2 separate regions of the Homo sapiens genome follow, and region 2 is linked to region 1. The links are contacts of gene promoters, found by promoter capture Hi-C in blood cells and fetal thymus (Javierre and others, 2016). All regions are on one chromosome and are shown on one strand. The core of a region is centred on a gene start or on the middle of the fragment in contact, and the rest is flanking DNA. Distances in the headings are between cores, read along the strand shown.

Evidence for each region. The method cuts DNA at HindIII sites, captures the fragments that hold promoters and counts their contacts. A CHiCAGO score of 5 or more calls a contact.
Region 2: a contact is called between a fragment that was not itself captured here and the fragment with the promoter of NDUFB6 in region 1, in 1 of 17 cell types (monocytes). The highest score is 7.6, in monocytes.

The regions. Positions count from the first base shown.
Region 1 is chr9:32,568,663-32,575,730 of GRCh38, reverse strand. NDUFB6 (NADH:ubiquinone oxidoreductase subunit B6) reads left to right here and starts at 2,572. Exons shown (of 4, transcript NM_002493.5): 1 at 2,572-2,850; 2 at 4,679-4,771. The coding sequence starts at 2,671. RefSeq lists enhancers at 2,165-2,214, 2,485-3,024. The HindIII fragment of the contact is 6,496 bases long and covers 1-3,712 here.
Region 2 is chr9:33,272,294-33,279,361 of GRCh38, reverse strand. It overlaps CHMP5 (charged multivesicular body protein 5), which reads right to left. Exons shown (of 8, transcript NM_016410.6): 6 at 2,798-2,906; 7 at 1,137-1,249. Among named protein-coding and RNA genes, the nearest start is that of CHMP5, 11 kb to the right of the region's middle. The HindIII fragment of the contact is 4,352 bases long and covers 1,132-5,483 here.

The DNA of each region.
Region 1 (7,068 bases), core at 1,323-3,822:
GGCGCGATCTCGGCTCACTGCAAGCTCCGCCTCCCAGGTTCATGCCATTCTCCTGCCTCAGCCTCCCGAGTAGCTAGGACTACAGGCGCCTGCCACCACACCTGGCTAATTTTTGTATTTTTAGTAGAGACGGGGTTTCACTGTGTTAGCTAGGAAGGTCTCGATCTCCTGACCTTGTGATCCACCCGCCTTGGCCTCCCAAAGTGCTGGGATTACAGGCGTGAGCCACCACGCCTGGCCAAGATTTTTTTTAAGTTGTTTTTTTTTTGTTTGTTTTTGCGGGTTGTCTCTCAGTGGATTTACAATAATTCAATGGTTTAAAGTTATAGTTGATCCTTGAAAAAAACAGGTTGAACTTCGAGGGTCCATCATACGTGGATTTTCTTCTGCCTCTGGCACCCCAAGACAGCAAGACCAACCCCTCTCTTTGCCTCCTTATGATTTTCTTAATAACAGTTTATTTTCTCTGGCTTACTTTATTGTAATAATATAGCATATAATACATATACAAAATGTGTGTTAATTGACTGTATGTTATCAGTAAAACTTCTGGTCAAGAGTAGGCTATTAAGTTTTTGGAGAGTCCAAAGTTATATGTGGATGTTTGATTGTGCCAAGTGGAGGGGATTGGCACTACTAACCCTAGCGTTGTTACAAGGGCTATTGTATTTAGAATGATGTGTACCTTTGAGATTATGCCACCAAGTGGACCAATTAAGAGCTACTGGTTTTTACTTGATTTTTATGGACTGCTTTTTGTAAATTTAATTTTGTTTTGTAATGATATTGTTAAAATTAAAACTTTAGAAAAATTAAATTTAGCAGAAATTAATTGAGCAATGACCAATTTGAGAATCAGGCAGCCCTCAGAACCAGAGGAGGTTCAGAAAGTATCGTTCCACAAAGAGGCCAGGCAGCACGCATAGAAAAAAAACAGAAATGAGATACAGAAACAGCTTGATTGGCTACAGGTTGGCCTTTGCCTTATTTGAACATGGGCTGATCAGTTGACCACCTGTGATGATTGGCTGAGACTCAGTTATTTGTTACAGAAGTATATTCCTAAGTTAGGCTGTGAGTTAAATTGCATACTAAGTTGGGTTGCAGTTCATTATATAAGGACTCAAAATACGGAGACATCTTTAAGCTAAATTTAATTTCACAATATGAAATATTTACTTGGTTCTAAAGTCAAATTTATGAAGTAAGATGTTTCCAGAGATGTCTAGATTCTATCCCTGTCTCCTCTATCCTATTTATTTCCTCCACCATAGGTAGCATCTTTAAAAACCTCAATTGTTTTCATTCCCATTATTTTGAAAATTTAAGAAAATATGTATATATATTGAAATTACCACCATCTTTCTCTTTTTGGGTAAAAGCATACTGTACAAATTCCTATCCATTTTTTTTCCACTTTGTAATGTATTCTGGAGATCACACCACAGATGTATATAGAGTTCTTCCTTATTACTTTTGACGATTGTATTAGCATTTCATTGCTTTGTTGTGTGAAAGTTTTTGGGAAGCCACTGTTTTGGACTAGCTTCACGCACTAGGCCCCAGCAGACCAGACCAAACCAGAATGGAGTCGTTTGTGCTAAGTACCACACAATCAAACTGAACTTTGAAATGGGCCAGTTTCCCAAAAAATAGGAAATTCCCTTAAGTCTGAGTCAGTGAAACAAGGAAGTTTCTTCTGCTTTAACCCTAAAAGTAACTTTGAAACGATGAGTCCACTTTTTGTTCGGTTTCTGCTTTCTTCAGCCCCTATTTGCCAATAAAACCAACCGCCTCTGCTCAGCTGATCAGAACACTCATTCTACTTTATAGAATGAGGTGTTTTTTGATTCTAGAATCACGAATAAGAGTCAATTAAGATTTTTAAACTAATTCGTTGTAATGCTGTCTTTTGACTGTTGTACTACAATTTATTCAAGCAGTCCTTTATTTAGGAATTTGGGGGTAATTTCCAATATTTTGGTATTATGAATCGTGCTGAATAGTCGTGCATGCTCTTTCATATTTTCACCACACGTATTTTTGGGTGAAAGCATGAATTCATCTATGCAATTTTGCTAGATATTAAGCTACTCTTTTCACTATTCCTGTACAGATGGAGGGACAGATGAGACAGCTGCCCAGGGCACTTCAGCAGTTACTGGCATAGCTGGGATTTGAACTGGGATGTAACTATTTTCATACACTCTCTAGGTCATTCCAAGGTGGGAGAGGCAAGCAAATAATTTTGAATCTGGCCAGCATATTCACTGAAACATTTATGCTTATCCTTCCTCCTCCCAGCATACAAGTTCTTCCTTAGCAAAACCTCCAGTCCTCTAATTTAGCATACTTTCGTCTAATCTGTCACTTTCCTCAGGCCCCACAACTACGAGTACTCCTTGTCCCCACCCGGTCCTAATTTGGTCGGGTATAGCGGAGGTGGGCGTAGAGAGAACTGGAGGTGGAGACCTTTGTGCATGCCCACACACTGCTTTCCTCGCGAGGAATCTGGGGCCCTTGCAGAGGCGGAACCAGGATGTGACGTAATAACCGCGCGCGGCGCTCGGCGTTCCCGCAAGGTCGCTTTGCAGAGCGGGAGCGCGCTTAAGTAACTAGTCCGTAGTTCGAGGGTGCGCCGTGTCCTTTTGCGTTGGTACCAGCGGCGACATGACGGGGTACACTCCGGATGAGAAACTGCGGCTGCAGCAGCTGCGAGAGCTGAGAAGGCGATGGCTGAAGGACCAGGAGCTGAGCCCTCGGGAGCCGGTGCTGCCCCCACAGAAGATGGGGCCTATGGAGAAATTCTGGAATAAATTTTTGGAGAATAAATCCCCTTGGAGGAAAATGGTGAGTGACAGACCTCTCCGGTCCCCCCCAACACATCCCACTGCTGCCGGCAGCCTGAACACTGAACGTCCGCTCCCTGCAGCCACACCAAGGACTGATAACGCTCAGTGCTCTGGGACACTGGCCAGTCCCGAGAGTCCTCCTGGAGTCTCGGGAGGCAGGAGTCCAGGAATATGTATGGCTTTGAGAGAATCATGCCTTTTACTGTCAAGTACAGTGGACGGGGGCGAATTTTAATACTTAGGTTTTCCAGGACGCTGCACGTTTGGTTCTCTTTTGACTGTAGAAATCTTCCCTCAGAATAATAACCAAGGACTCGCTAGAATTAAAATTCTGTGATTTAAGTATTTGAGGACACTTGTCTGACTTTTAAGTGTGAGGTTCTAGAGACCAAGTAACACAGTATCCAACCACCAGAGGGCACAGCCAGCCCCTAGCTGATAGTACAGCCCCATGTGATCCCCGTAAAAGACAGGGTCCTGTTGGTATGCCTTGTGAGTCACATTCAAGAGCTACCTTTCTAAACTACCGTTCTGTACTTTTAACACAGTGTTTCATTAAAAAAATCGCATTTTGGGCTTTGAAGAAAATCACTCATTCAAGAACTTTATTTTCAAGGCCTCTGGGTATTTTCTTGAGGACTGTTATGGATGATAAACATCTCAGAATTGCTTTCAGTTACCTGCAACACTTACTGATGACAGGATAATAGTAGTAACAATACTACGTAACACACGGGTGCTTGCTGTGTGCTTGGCACTCTACTGGGGGTTTTACATGTGTTACTTCATTTCTTTATTCCTGTAAGGTAGATATTCCTAATCCTCATTTTAAATGTGAAGAAACTGAGGCCTACAAAGCTTCAGTGATTTGCTGGTGGTCAGGGAGCTAGGAATTGAATATGAGTTCATATTGTAATCAACATGTATCTGATTCTTACTGTGCTACAAAGTCTAGTGCAATAGAATTGTTGAAAATTTTTCTGAGAAAGTGATATTGGATACTTATTTATGGTGGTAAAATTCAACTCTTCTCCCACCCTTTGTATCCCTGACATTATCGGAATATTGGCAGTCACTGATTTAAAGTTGACATCCCATCCATCAGCAAGTGATATAAGGAAGTAAATAAATAATAATGTGTCGAAGTTCACCTTACCTTACTTTAATTTATTCTTTTATAATCATATCTGTTATAATTCTTAGATTCTGGATTGTCCCTTCCTTGAATGGATAGGTGTTTTTTAATCAAGTTGGAAGACATGGGAAAGTTCCATTTTTAGTTCTTTTTTAAAATAGTGTTGCAGAGGGCATTTTGGAGTGAGTTTGGGACACCCCATCTTAGTATGTAAAACGTCCTTTTTCCAGCATTGGCGTTGTCAAGGTTGTCTGCCTTATACCTAAAATGATGTGAGTGTCATTGATCAATAAATAAGGGAGATGACTATACCTGAAAAATTCTGTAGGTTTGATTACTCTGGTTAAATACATTAAAATTATTCTTTCATTATTTTGCTATATTTTATCTTTAACAAACTTATAATAAGGATATTTTTGGAAGTCTTTAAAAAATCTATAAATGCCTTGTTATAGTCTTGCAAAATACTGCTTAAGCATTTTGGTCTGGACTTTGTAGGTATCTTCTAGCAGACTCTGCATTTACTAAGAATATTTGAGTAGATGAGGTTACCTACAGACTATAAGAAAATATGTGCCATTTAGAGTTTTGTAAAATAGTCATGGCATTGTTACATCATTGATGCCTTTTGTTCTGCCATAAATATAAAAAATGGGATATGTTTATTTTGTGTATGTGTTTTTCCCCCCAGGTCCATGGGGTATACAAAAAGAGTATCTTTGTTTTCACTCATGTACTTGTACCTGTCTGGATTATTCATTATTACATGAAGTATCATGTTTCTGTAAGTATGTCCTTTTCAGAATTCATTTTTAATATTGTCCAAAATTACTTTCTTTGTGGCTATCTTACCCTACTTAGTGGAAATAATCTGCCACTTATAAACAGATTTTGAAGTACTTTGAATTCTCTTAGGTAAAAGGTTTAATGAAAGTTACATAATTGGGTATAGTTTTTAAAAAATATTGTCACTAGTTTACAACTTGAAATGGATTTCCTCATAGAAATTAGTATTTAAGTGATAAGAATGTAGTGACCTAATAATACTAGGGTAAATTTGGAGTCATGAATAGGAAGGGAGAAAACAATTCTGCTCCTTTTTAAAAACCTGTATCTCGTATAAGGTAAAAATTCAAAATAGACAAAGCATATCTTTGTCATCACCCAATTTCTGTTCCCTTCATTTTATCTGATTCTTCACAATTTTTATTTATTTAGAACTCAGGATGTCCAGATGCCTGCACTTTTTCACTGATACAGATCTTGCATGGGCTGATGGAACTGAGCCAGTTGTGGTATTTTAAAGGCTTGGTCTGGTGCAGGGTGTTGGATCCCAGGCAGAATGAGAAGGGCATGCATTTTGGGAAGTGGCGTGGCAGAGGGAGCAGTGGTGACTGCGTAGCCTGAAGTGTTGGAGCACAAAAGAGTGAGGAGGGCATTCGTATACCAAGAGAGGGGTGTTAGATCCTCAGTGGGTTGCAGGGGAGGAGGGTGAGCACATCTGTTTGGGGAGCAACAGTGGCAACAGCCTAGTATAGGATATTGGTACCTGAGCAGAGGGAGGAGGACATCTGGAAGAAGGATGGTATGAGGCAGTGAGGCAAGTGGTAACTCAGAGCAAGATGTCAGAACCTGAATGAGGTGAGGCAGGTATTAATGCTGGGATGTGGTTGTGGTGACAGGAGATGGGTTATATATAGGGAGATTGGCCAAATACAGGCATACCTCAGAGATATTTCAGAATTGGTTGTAGAACAATGCAGTTCCAAAAGTATTCTTTGGTTCTAGACCACCAAAACGAGTTACACAAATTTTTTGGCTTCCTAGTGCATATAAAAGTTATGTTTACACTGTGCTGTGGTATAAGTGTGTAATAGCAGTGTAAAAGAACGATGTATATGCTTTAATTTAAAAATACTTTATTGCTGGGCCATGTGTGGTGGCTCCCACCTGTAGCCCTAGCACTTTGAGAGGCCAAGGTAGGAAGATTGCTTGAGGCCAGAAGTTCGACCGGCTTGGGCAACATAGTGAGACTCCATGTTTCCAAAAAAAAAGAAAAAAAAATAGCTGGATGTAGTGGTCCACACCTATAATCCCAGCTACTCAAGAGGCTGAGATGGGAGGATTGCTTGAGCCCAGGATTTCGAGGCTGCAATAAACTGTGATTGTGCCACTGCACTCTGGCCTAGGTGCCAGGTTGATATGCTGCCTTAAAAAGAAAAAACAGGCCGGGCACGGTGGCTCATGCCTGTAATCCCAGCACTTTGGGAGGTTGAGGCGGGTGGATCACGAGGTCAAGAGATCGAGACCATCCTGGCCAACATGGTGAAACCCCACCTCTACTAAAAATAAAAAAAATGAGCTGGGCATGGTGGCGGGCGCCTGTAGTCCCAGCTATTCGGGAGGTTGAGGCAGAAGAATCACTTGAACCTGGGAGGTGGAGGTTGCAGTGAGCTGAGATCGTGCCACTGCACTCCAGCCTGGCGACAGAGTGAGACTCCGTCTCAAAAAAGAAAAAGAAAAAAACAAAAACTTCATTGCTAAAAAATGCTAATGATCATTTGAGCCTTAGTGACTATGTATGATCTTTTTGCTAATGGAAGGTCTTGCTTCCATGTTGATAACTGCTGACTGATCAGGGTGATGGTTGTTGCAGGCTGGAGTGGCTGTGGCAATTTCTTAATATAAGATAGCAGGCGGGGCGCGGTGTCCCACGCCTGTAATCCTACCACTTTGGGAGGCCAAGGCAGGTGGATCACGAGGTCAGGAGTTCAAGACCACCCTGGCCAAGATGGTGAGACCCTGTCTCTACTAAAAATACAAAAATTAGCTGGGAGTAGTAGTGGGTGCCTGTAATCCCAGCTACTCGGGAGGCTGAGGCAGGAGAATCGCTTGAACCCGGGAGGCGGAGGTTGCAGTGAGCTGAGATTGCACCACTGCACTCCATCCTGGGCAACAGAGCAAGACTCCATCTCAAAAAAAAAAAAAAAAAAAATATATATATATATATATGCACACACACACACATATACATACACATATATATACATACGTATATACATATATAAGTATATGTACATA
Region 2 (7,068 bases), core at 2,058-4,557, 700 kb before region 1:
GTAATAATGGACCTAAGAAATTACCTGCTCCCTGCCCTTTGCTCTCACATTTTACAGGTAGGAAAAACTGATGAGGTTCAAAAAGAAGACATAAATTTCTGCTATTTTGCTCAAAGTCACACCTTGCCCAGCCTGGTTGTCATTATTAGTGGCTCATGCCTGTAATCCCAGCACTTTGGAAGGCTGAGGCAGGCAGATCACCTGAGACCAGGAGTTTGAGACCAGTCTGGCCAACATGGTGAAACCCCGTCTCTACTAAAAATACAAAAATTAGCCAGGCATGTTGGCGCGCACCTGTAATCGCAGCTACCTGGGGTGGCTGAGGCACGAGGATTGCTTGAACCAGGGGGGCGGAGGTTGCAGTGAGCTGAGATCACGCCACTGCACTCCAGCCTGAGTGACAGAATGAGTCTCTGTCTCAAAAAAAAAGACAATCATGTAGATTTGGACAGAGCTTTAAGTTTGCACAGTCCTTTACATACAAGATCTAATTTGCTTGCACAACAATTACGTGAGATACTTGTAATTATCTGCATTTTACAGATGCAAGGAAAAGAAAAGCTTACAATAGCTAAGTAATTAGTCATACTTAGTGTCAGGTGTTCTGATTCTTTTGCCTTAAATTAGAATCTTTCTACATTAAGTTTTATGCTTAAATTATTAATCCATAGTTTAGAAAATCCACCCATTCTAAACTCCTGTGTGTACAGGAAAAAAAAAAAAGAAAAAGAAAGGAAAATAAAATTAAAAATCCAGCCAGTAATTAACTGGTGTGTATGAAGAGTGAGACTTTTTCACTGCTGCCTAGCAAGTCTCATGCATGTGTTGCTTACGCTTTTACAGGAAATGTCTAAGACCCATCAATGGTACCCAGTGCCAGCTCACAACAAGGGTGATCATGTATGTTACACAAATTGTCATTCTATAAAAATATTCCTGAGCCTCAGTGACAGTGTTTATGCAGTCAGTTCATCATCCAATGCAGAAAAACCGGACCTTCAAGGGTTCACAAAATAATGACCAGGACTGTCTTTCTTTGTTCTAATGTTAAGACTACCTTTTAGATTCCCAGACTTATGGTCAAGCATAAAGCCTTTGCTATTTTGCATTGAAATATAAACAGAAAAAGCTTTCACCTTGTTTTTTGTATCAGTGGGAACACCTTCTGGAATTGCAGGTGCAGATGCTGCCTCATCCAAATAAGAACTGTCTTCATCAGCCAGAAGCTCATCACCTAGTGCATCCAACTCTGAGATTGAAACAGTCAACATTTAAAAAAAATGTAACCAAGAAAACTGGCAGCTAATAATTTCTCTCATTTATCGATGGACTTGAAAGAAGGCAGTGAAGAGGGCATGAGATTGTTGTATGCTGTGTGACCATTACGTGAAATCAGACTCCAAAAATAAGTCTGTGGTAAAATGAGTTGGAAGTGGCCAAGAGGAATGACAATAGCAGGTAGAGACTTATCAGGGGCAATTGAAGATGGGAAATTAAAAAATAAAGAAATAAGTGGAAAAAAAATGAAAGGTTCTAGGCAAAAATAGACCATGGAGAGAGCGGGAAAGCAGCAGTAGTAATGTAACAGGGGAATCACACAATAGAAATCCAGTGTGGAATGGTTCTGTCATCTACCCAGTTACTCATGCTAGAAACTGACAGCCACCCTTGACACCTCCCACTTCTTCCACATCCTGTCAATCATTAAGTCTTGTCCACTCAATTTTCTAAGATGTCTTCAATCTGTCCACTTCTGTCTGTTTCTGCTACCATCACCCTAGCTAGTCTCGGCCACCATCATCTCTTAAATGGCTATCGCAATAACTTCCAGACTGCTCTCCCTGAGGCCATTCGACAACCCTTCTCATTTTTTCATGCTATCCCCTACTCACCCTTCAGGTCCCATGCCTCTCTCCCACTACTAACTAGGTTAGAGTCCCTTAGTATGTGCTCCCATGCTACCCCATACTTCTTCCCTATAGTCTGTGCTCTAGTAATTAATTACTTGAAGCAAACCATTTATGTCTTCCACTGCTAGAGAAGGTTCATGAATGTAGGGGCTGCATTTTTATTCAGTGCTAAATTCCCACCACCTAGTAGAGTACCTGGCATAGAGTAGATGCACACTAAGTATTTGCCAACTATTCTTTTTTTTTTTTTTTTTTTTTTTTGAGAGAAGGTCTCACTCTGTTGCCCAGGCTGCAGTGGGGCAATCTCGGCTCACTGGAACCTCTACCTCCTGGGATCAAGTGATCCTTCCACCTCAGCCTCCCGAGTAGCTAGGACCGCAGGCGCACACCACCATGCCTGGGTAATTTTTGTATTTTTTATAGAGACGGGGTGACGCCATATTGCTCAGCCAGGTCTCGAACTCCTGGGCTTGAGTGGATCCGCCTACCTTGGCCTTCCAAAGTGCTGGGATTAGGGCACCTGGCCCTAATTATTGTTTCTTAATTGGTTTTGCTGTTCTGAGGGAGAGGACTCCAACTAGGAAAATAGTGAGAACAAAATCAAAAGGAATACAGCAAGGAAAGGCCACGTGGAGGACACTTACAGATACCAAGCACCAGGTCAGCCTGTACCTGGACTTCCTTCAGAGTTGATCCATCCCACTGTTGTTGGTGGAGTATGCAATCTGATGTGGCTGCCTCACAAGCTCTTTGCCCAGGGACAGTACCATAAACTAACCTTCAGGAAATCCTGATAGAAATTTTCACTAGCATTTGAGAAAAGGTCCCAGGCAGCTGTTGCTTTTGGACTCCAAAACTAAATATACATTACTTTTCTCATAACTTACCTGCTTCTAAATCATCTTCATCCAGTTCTGGGGTGCCATAACTGCGACTCAGTGCTTCTTGGATTTCATTTGCATCTTCCATCATATCCTCTAGCTGGTCTTGTAAATCCTACGGAAATATATATGAGAGGATTTTCTCTCATTTACCATTTTCTTTTAACTACCCTTTTCCCCTACATTCTCCTTTGAATCTAGACATGAGCAATTTTTAAAAAGATAATGTATATAAAATGCCAAGCACATAAACAGTTCTCAACAACTGTTAGTTCACCTCCCCTATCCCAGTCTTTGGCTAGCAATTTTTTAATGTTAACAACTGAGCAGACACTCCTCTAAAGGACAGGTTCAAGTAACTCTTAAAACATCCCTTCTAATTAAAAGTATGAGAGAATGCTTAAAGAATTAAAAACCATAAGCCCAAAGACCTCCTCTAACAATAATTATGAATGTTACTGACCCACATAATCCCTTGCCTATTTTTGGTGGCAAAATGTGAACTTAAAGAATAGAATTGATGATCTCTCATTTTATTTTTTACTTTATTTATTTATTTATTGAGATGGAGTCTCGCTTTGTCACCCAGGCTGGAGTGCAATGGTGCAATCTCAGCTCACTGCAACCTTCACTTCCCGGGTTCAAGTGATTCTCCTGCCTCAGCCTCCAAATAGCTGACATTACAAGTGTGCACCACCACGCCTAGCTAATTTTTGTATTTTCAGTAGAGGTGGGGTTTTGCCATGTTGGTTAGGCTGGTCTCAAACTCCTGACCTCAGGTGATCTGCCCACCTCAGCCTCCCAAAGTGCTGGGATTATAGGCATGAGCTACTGTGCCCGGCTGGATTTGATTTTAAAGTGCCTCATGGAAGCCCAAAGTCCTATGTGAGAATAGATGATTGTCAGCTGTCTACTATTACAGAAAGTTTTACTTGAAACATTAAATCAAGCAATTATCTTGATCTAAACTGTCAATCATTTTCTAGTTAATGAAGACAGGGAGGTTACTGAGACAAGCAAATTATTCTTCTCAAGTCAGCGAAAGACAGATTACACTGTGTAGAGAAAGGAGGCAAGAGTAGAAACAACTGAAGTGGTACAAAAAGTGAGTTGTACATGGGCCCACCCTGGATGGAGAATCAGAAAGGGAATCAGGATAGGTGTCACAGCCAAGACAAGGCTGGTGAAAAAAATGGACCAAGGGCATAAACCCTGTGTGAATAATCTACCTGTGCTTAACTGGGAGATTACTACAAGGCTAAAAATGCAGTTGTCCCTTGGTACACGCAAGGGATTGGTTCCAGGATGTCTGTCTATACCAAAATCTGCCCACACCCAAGTCCCCAGTTGGTCCTCCATATGGGTGGTTTCGCATCCTGCAAACACTATATTTTCGATCCTCGTTTGGTTGAAAAATATCTGCATATAAGTGACTCGTGCAGTTCAAACTGCATTTGCTGTTCAAGGGTAAACTGTAATATGAAACCAATCTAAGAAGTGGTATAGCATAACAAAGGGCAGCTGGTATAATGGTTAGGAGTGAGACTCTGGAGTCAGATATACCCAAGTTCAATTTTGCCATTACTCAATGAGAAGTAATGTCTCTAAGCCTTATTTTCCTCATCTGTAAAATGGAATTATTAATAGCCATATCTGGCCAGGCGCGGTGGCTCATGCCTGTAATCCTAGCACTTCAGGAGGCCAAAGTGGGTGGATTGCCTGAACTCAGGAGTTCGCAACCAGTCTGGGCAACATGGTGAAACCCCATCTCTACTAAAATACAAAAAATTAGCCAGGCATGGTGGCATGCGCCTGTAATCCCAGCTACCCGGGAGGCTGAGGCAGGAAAATCGTTTGAACCCAGGAGGCAGAGGTTGCAGTGAGCCGAGATCGCGCCACCGCACTCTAGCCTGGGCGACAGAGCGAGACTCTGTTTCAAAAATAAATAAATAAATAAAATAGCCATATCTCACTGGGGTTATTGTAAGGATTTATTGCAATAATATATGTAAAACACTAAGCACCTAATACTATATATATTTTACTGTGTTAATTATGTGCGGAACAACAATACACTCTTCATATACTAAAATTCCACACAGACAGGAACAGAACTAGTGTTGATAAAGCAAAAGGACCAAATCAGCACCATTTATCCTTCAGAATTTCTAAAGCAATGCAAGACATTTGAAAATTCTGCTGGGTGCAGTAGCTTATGCCTGTAATCCAAGCACTCTGGGAGGCAAAAGAGGGCGGATCACTTGAGCTCAGGAGTTTGGGACCAACCTGGGGAACATGGCAAAACCTCATCTCCACAAAAAAATACAAAAATTAGCTGGGCATGGTGCATGCTTGTAGTCTCAGCTACTCAGGAGACTGAAGTAGAAGGATGGCTTGAGCCTGGGAGGCAGAGGTTGCGGTGAGCTGAGACTGAGTCACTATAATCCAGCCTAGGCAACAGCAAAAAAAAAAGAAAAAAGAAAATTCCTTCCTGGCCCCCATAAAGGTGAAAGGTGAAAAGGGTAGTAAAATGGAGGGGAAATTTTTTTTTTAAACTTTGATTTTCTGTATTTCCAAGTACCAAACTGCCAAATTATATGCATATTTAACACTCTGCTACACAGAGAAGCACTGGCTGAGTAATAATTAAAGACAATGAAAATAACATAGAGAAAGCTAATCAAGTCAAGCTTATACAATAGTATTACACATCAAGACACATCTTCCCGGATCATCTATGAATAGGATTCCTAGCAAGACTCCAGGATAGACACAGAAAAAATTTATCCCACAAACCATTAACTGGTTCTCTATTGTATAAACAAACAAAAGCAATATAAAAAAAAAAAGCACTAAGCTAAAAAGAACATTGACAAAGTGATATGCAGCAACTGAAAAAGCAGAAGAAAAACAGACCTACACACACACAACAGCAAAATAAAAAGTTAAAGCTATAAAACAATGAAAATATTTTCTAAGTAAAGCATTTTAGGAAAATAAATCTGACCAAAAAATTCGATCTAACCAAAGACACATACACACCAAAAGAGTTAAAGGGGCTCTCCACCTGTCATGCTGGCAATCTATTGGAGGACAGGAAAAGGATAATTAGGCAGGGAGACAGACAGACAACCACAGGTGAAAGACGAAGAGACATACAAAGCATTCACCAAGACCAAAGTTTCTCTTTTGTTCCTATTAAATAGCTTTAATTAAAACACAAGGAACCCTAAAAGCAGAAAATACCATTGCATTTCATTATATTTTAATGGCAAATGATATTATACAAAAAAAAAAATGGCTGGGAGTGGTGGCTCATACCTGTAATCCCAGCACTTTGGGAGGCCGAGGTGGGCGGATCACTTGAGGTCAGGAGTTTGAGACTAGCCTGGCCAACATGGCGAAACCCCATCTCTACTAAAAAAATACAAAAATTAGCTGGGTGTGGTGGCAGGCACCTGTAATCCCAGCTATCTGGAAGGCTGAGGCAGGAGAATTGCTTGAACCCAGGAGGCGGAGGTTGCAGTGAGCCGAGATCACACTGCACTCCAGCCTTGGTGACAGAACGAGACTCTGTCTCAACAACAACAACAAAAAAAGACAAGCATATACAGAACACTTTCATCAGTGAAGCTCTTAGAGAGTATCACAAAGTTTAATTCCATGTATGCAAACATTTGTGGAGGATTAGAGACAGACAAAGGCAACCTAAGAGGGATGCTTGAAAAAATAAGAGAGGGGAGGAATGCCTTCACTCTTTTATTTTTTTTTGAGACGGAGTCTTGCTCTGTCGCCCAGGCTGGAGTGCAGTGGCGCAATCTTGGCTCACTGCAAGCTCTGCTCTCGGGTTGCCATTCTCCTGCCTCAGCCTCCCGAACAGCTGGGACTACAGGCACACACCACCATGCTCGGCTAATTTTTTGTATTTTTGGTAGAGACAGGGTTTCACCGTGTTAGCCAGGATGGTCTTGATCTCCTGACCTCATGATCCACCCGCCTCGGCCTCCCAAAGTGCTGGGATTACAGGAGTGAGCCACCATGCCCAGCCTGCCTTCACTCTTACTAAAGATCAGCTTTATGAGAGAATATCTTTGCAGAGGCAATAAAATGCCTGGTATTTTAACAAACACTGCTTGAATCAGGCTGTACTGCTTTCTCTCTTTTTTTTTTTTTTTTTGCTTTATCTCCCTTTATAGCCTCTGATTCATCAACCAGCAAATACTTTCTGAGCACCAACCATGGCAGGGCATTGTTATGGGCACTGGGGACACAGTAGT